2 separate regions of the Homo sapiens genome follow, and region 1 is linked to region 2. The links are contacts of gene promoters, found by promoter capture Hi-C in human tissues and cell types (Jung and others, 2019). All regions are on one chromosome and are shown on one strand. The core of a region is centred on a gene start or on the middle of the fragment in contact, and the rest is flanking DNA. Distances in the headings are between cores, read along the strand shown.

What was found. Contacts are between HindIII fragments. The study calls those that stand out against the background at their distance.
Region 1: a fragment that was not itself captured here is called in contact with the fragment with the promoter of STK32A in region 2 in 3 of the 25 tissues and cell types used here (H1 embryonic stem cells, aorta and pancreas).

Annotation. Positions count from the first base shown.
Region 1 is chr5:147,266,864-147,269,563 of GRCh38, reverse strand. The region is part of intron 2 of STK32A (serine/threonine kinase 32A); the gene reads right to left. Among named protein-coding and RNA genes, the nearest start is that of STK32A, 33 kb to the right of the region's middle. The HindIII fragment of the contact is 8,058 bases long and covers 1-2,700 here.
Region 2 is chr5:147,233,548-147,236,300 of GRCh38, reverse strand. STK32A (serine/threonine kinase 32A) reads right to left here and starts at 1,275. Exons shown (of 13, transcript NM_001112724.2): 1 at 1,102-1,275. It overlaps STK32A-AS1 (STK32A antisense RNA 1), which reads left to right and starts at 1,442. Exons shown (of 4, transcript NR_147190.1): 1 at 1,442-1,588. The HindIII fragment of the contact is 18,302 bases long and covers 1-2,753 here.

The sequences.
Region 1 (2,700 bases), core at 51-2,550, 33 kb before region 2:
ACGTGACTCTCCTCAGTGCTATGATTCGCTAAAGGCAAAGTCAATTCGACATGGAAACAGTTACAGTTTGGTTGCCCACACGTCTGGCTTCTGCTTTCCAGTCCAGAGAGGATTTCATTTTTCTGTCTCAGTATAGCTGAAAGTCCTAGGTGCAGTAGAGGCTTTCCAAGACATTGCTCACTGAACTCAGTCTGTGTTCACTGACAACAACACACCATTACTGACTGCTTACTAAGTAACAGCCATTGTGCTAGGTGCTGGGAGAAAGAAGCCCAAGGTTGCCTGCCTTCAGGGGTCCTACAGTCTAGTGGAACAACAGAAAAATTCATAGTAGCTAACATCTAACATTTATATAAGGAATACCCATCATTATTCTAAATATGTTACATATATTATCCTAATTTTGCGCCAACTCTGAAACAGTATTACTATTATTGCCACGTTTTTAGGTGAACAAACTGCAACCCAGGGAAATTAAGTACCTTTCTCAAGGCCACAAAGTAGGTAAGTGGCAGAGTGGTAGAGTCCCACTCAAGTGGACTCCACAGCTGCCCTCCAACACTGTTCTTTACTGCATTCTATTAAACACACATAATCAATCTTGCACAAAAAAGTAGAATAAGCAGCACAGAGTTGGGTAAAGACCTGACTCACAACAATGTTCATATTTCTGCTTCTCCTCTTCTTATGCAGGTCTTTCATTTTTCACAGACCCTCTCTCACAACTCAGATCCCATCAACCACTTGCTGTCACTGTATCTGTCACTCATCATCTCTCACATCCCTAGCCAGATGCCTTGGTCTAGGATTGGAACTGTGACTCAGGCCATTCCAATCATTTTCACTCTGGATCTTCTGATCTTGAAATGCATATTCCCCCTCTGTCACAGGCTTCCAGAACATGAGAATGGAACTGGCTGAATGTAGAGAAAAAAGATCAGCACATCCAACAGGATAAAGCTGACATTTGGAATAAAGTAAAATCACAACATAAAGGGCTAAAGCTGATGGCATTAATGTGCCTGGCTCTATAACAATATAGATCCTATTTTGATTACTCTGCAGGCATCCCCAATATCCTTCTGATAATTTAATTTTTAACTTTTTTTTTACCAAAATAGATTCAAGTTCCAAGTGATATAAGCAGTGCTGCCATAGGGAGACCTGTAATGGGAGAAAGTAGCAGGAAAAGCCAACCTAGTCCAGGGAAATCCTGCAAAGCATCCTAGAGGAGATTATTACAACCTCAGAAGAATGTTGCAAGGGACTTGATGATCTATTCTTTCCTACAGATTTTCTTAATTTATCTCTGCATTGGATTATCAGGAAGGTAATTTCTCAGGAAAAGAGATGAAACATAAATAAATAACTGCAATATAACATAAATAAACAACTGCAATATAAAGTAGTGTATATGTATTGAGAGCCACATAAATGGTCCTGACGTGATTCTCAAGTGTGTCCACCCATCAAAATCACACAAATACATGTTTTTAAATTCAGATTCATTGGCCTTATCTGAATCAGATTCTCTGGAGGCTGGACCTGGGAATCTGTATTTTCAAAGATCCCATGAGGATTTTGTTAAAGGCTGCCTAGAACTAGTCTGCAGATGTTTATAGGAGTTCTAAGGTGGGAGAAATCTCTTCCTACTTTAGAAAATAAGAAAGCTTCAGGAATGGGCAGCATTTTAACTGGGTCTTGCAGAATGGGTTGGAGTTCCAAAGGTAGCCAGGCAGAGGAGGTCAGGGAGGATGCATTTAAAGTGACCCAAACCCTGAGGTGAAGAAGCTCTCAGTAGATAAGTATTTATATAAATGTTGACTCAATCAATTTCTTAGACTTCCCCCTCCATGTTGCCTCTATCCTTATGGGTTTGAAGCAATTTAATAAGTATCTGTAAATGATTAATGATAGAACTTCTGCTACCTGCACTGTGCCACATCTTAGGTCATAGTTAATAATTACATTACTGTCTATTAAGTAGCATATATACATCTATAGGCACTATCCAAATACCTTAATATACATTATCTTATTTACTTTTTACCAAAACAGCATGAGGTGGTAATATTATTATTGCTACTTTATAGATATGTTACATAAACCCAGAAAAGTTAAATTACCCAGGGTCAGGGTTTGGACTTAAATCTGACTTTTTGTGGCTCCAAGTTCCATGATTTTAATATTGTGATGAGTCCTAAAAGTTTCTGAATACATTATGGTGACTATGAGCATGAAACTCTGCTTTTGGGTTTGTCTGTACTACTTACTAGCTATGAACTTTAATTATTTACCCTCTGTGAGTTTCAATTTCTTCTTTCAATTTTGACCAGATACAATATACCTTCTAAGGTTATAATGAGGACTAGGTAAAATAAGCCATATCAAAGGTGCTTATCAACCATTTTTGGCAGAGAATAGGAACTCAATAATGTATAATTATTACTGCTATTTATGTTATTGCTATTGTTACCAGATGAATTACCTTTGTTTCAGCCCAGAATGTTGCCTGTTGGTTTTTTTTTTTTTTTGAGATGGAGTTTCAATCTTGTTGCCCAGGCTGGAGTACAAGTGCAATGGCACAATCTCGGCTCACCACAACCTCTGCCTCCCAGGTTTAAGTGATTCTCCTGCCTCAGCCTCCAGAGTAGCTGGGATTACAGACACGCACCACCATGCCTGGCTAATTTTGTATTT
Region 2 (2,753 bases), core at 26-2,525:
GAAATTTGTCTTGCAGGGACACAGGGAGTTTTCAGAGTCTACCCTGACCTGGCCGATTATCAGATTATTAACTGGGAAATAGTTCCCTAATACCAACCTTTCATCTTTGGCCTGTAATTTGGGGGTTGTCAACAGGTAAGCTTCTCTAACCACCAAGCCTCCCTAGATAAAGAGGTGTGGTCTTCTAGGATTGGAAAACATAGGAGGTGATGCAAGAAAGTTGCAACTTTTGATTAAACATTTTAGGTTTCATTGTCACAGAATGTGCATAGACACAACTTATTTTGTTTGCATTTGAAAAACAGAACTTCTTAGTTTAAGAAATATTTTAAAAATAGGGGGCAAAAACATGAAAAATGCCCAAGTTAATAACACTCTCAGTTAACAATTGTTTATATTTGGTCATCTTTATATCATCATTTTTATTTTTAAAGCATTTTAGGGAAATATTATTTCCACCTTAATCCTAAAGTCCAATTGATTTCCCTTTCACACTTTCCAAAGACAGCCACAATCACGGATGTGATAAACATTTTACAGTCCCCCTTCTATGATTTTACAAACATGACAAGTGTCTTAAAATAAGTCACCTAAATGGCATGAGAGAGTGGATATATTTTGCATCTTGCTGTGTCTATCTGCCATCATACTTCTGAAATCTAGGTACAGGCATGCTGATCCCTACAGCTCTGATTTTAGCTTTTTAAGTGCTGCATAGCAGTCCGTTGTGTGAATACACCACATTTTATTTTTTAAGTCCTGGGGGAAAAAGTCCTTGTGGAGATGAAGCAATCATCAAAGGCAGCTAGGTTTTGCTTGTTTAGATGCTGGAGAACAAGCAGAAACACCTCCACTCACTTGTCTCAACCCAGCAAATATTTATTGAAGTCTGTCTGGGTCTGCACATGAGTCAGTGCCAGGCAGGGGAACCTGGATGGAGTGCAAAATAGCTGGAATTGGCCCTAGCCTGCATTTAGTTTTGTGAGTTATCTTGATCAGCAGCCTTTGTCTTCTCTTCTCCTTGCACTTCCTAGCTTCCCAACAGTACCCTTAGTATGCAGGTTTATTGTTATTATTCGTTAAATCTAGACCACCACTCACCTAGTCTCGATTCTTCCTTCATTCCTCCCATGAGGCTCGGAGCGATGCTTTCATCCAGGGAACAGGGACTAAGAGAAGAACTCCAAGAGCAAGGAGCAAGAAAAGGCACCTATCTGCCCGGAAGCGGCGGAGGCTGCGAGCGCCGGGCTGGGCTGGGCTGGGCTGCGCTGGACTGAGCTGGGCTGGGCTGGGGAGGCACCTGCGGCTGCCAAGGGGTCCGAGCGCCGCCCAGCGCACAGCTACCCCGGAGGGGCGGCTCCTTGGCCAGGGAAGGAGGCGGGATCTGCTTGCCAGCGGGCGTCTCCGCTTAGCGCTCTCTCCAGAAACCGCTGGGCAGTCTCCTGGGTGAGCGCCAGACGCCTGGGGTCCGTTTGCCGCCTGCTGAGACTAGACAAGGACCCCGGGAGGGCGACGTTGGGGGAGAGGGCTACGGATGGAGGTCCCGCCGCGCTTGGGCCGGGTCCGGAGCCACCAGGACGCACAGCGGGTACTATTACGCCCCATATCACGGGAACTGCCTCACCCCCCCTGCGATGTGGATCGTAATAGCCGGGGGGGGGGGGGGGGGAGAAGGGGGGTGCTATTACTCTCCATATCGCCGGGGGTGCCTCACCCCCCTGCGATGTGGATCCTAAAAGCCGGGGGGTTGAGGGGGAGAGGGCGGTGCTATTACTCCTCATATCGCGGGGGAAGCCTCACTCCCCTGCGATGTGGATCGTAATAGTCGGGGGGGAAAGGGGGACGCTATTAATCCCCATATGGCAGGAGGGTGCCTCACACCCCAGCGATGTGGCTCGTAGTAGCCAGGGAGGGAGGGGGGGTCCTATTACTCCCCATATGGCGGGGTGTGCCTCACCCTCTTGCTATATGGGAATTAATAGCATTCTCTCCCCTCTTGGACATTAGAAACAATTTCACAGTGTGTGTGTACACAGCCTGCGATATTGAAACTAACAGCATCCTATCCACCTCCGGTTATTAGGAACAATATCACAAAATGGTGTACACTCTTTGCGAGACTTGGAGTTCTATCGTGCTGTGTTTCCCTGAATATTCGTAGAAATGTGACAGCGTGGGTGTACACCCACTACTATATTGGGAGTAACTTCGTACTCCACCCCCTGGAAATTAGGAGAAATATCACGGAAGGGGTGTAAAGCCACTGCGATATTTGAAATAATATCATGCCCTCACCCACTAGTTATTAGGAACAATATCACAGGACGGTGTATACCTTCTACAGTATTGGGAGTAATATCATCATCTCTTTCTTTAGATATTAGGAACAATATCAAAGGGGGTTGCACACCCAGTGTATTATTGGAAGTAATATCATTCTCTCTTCTTCTAGATTTTAGGAATCATATCACAGGCAGGGTGTACCACCCTTATTATATTAAAAGTAATGTTATCTCCTTTCGACCTGGATATTAAGAACAATAAGAAATGCGTTCTGTACATCCTTTGAATATTGGTAGTAATACCATCTTTTCCCTTCCTGGATTTAAGAAACAATATGACTTGTGGGGTGTCCACCCCTTGCAATATTGGGAGTAATATCACCTCTCCCCATGAGGTTATTAGGGACAAAATCACAGGGTGGGTGTACACTTCCTACGTTATTAAGAGTAATATCATCCACTTTCCCCCTT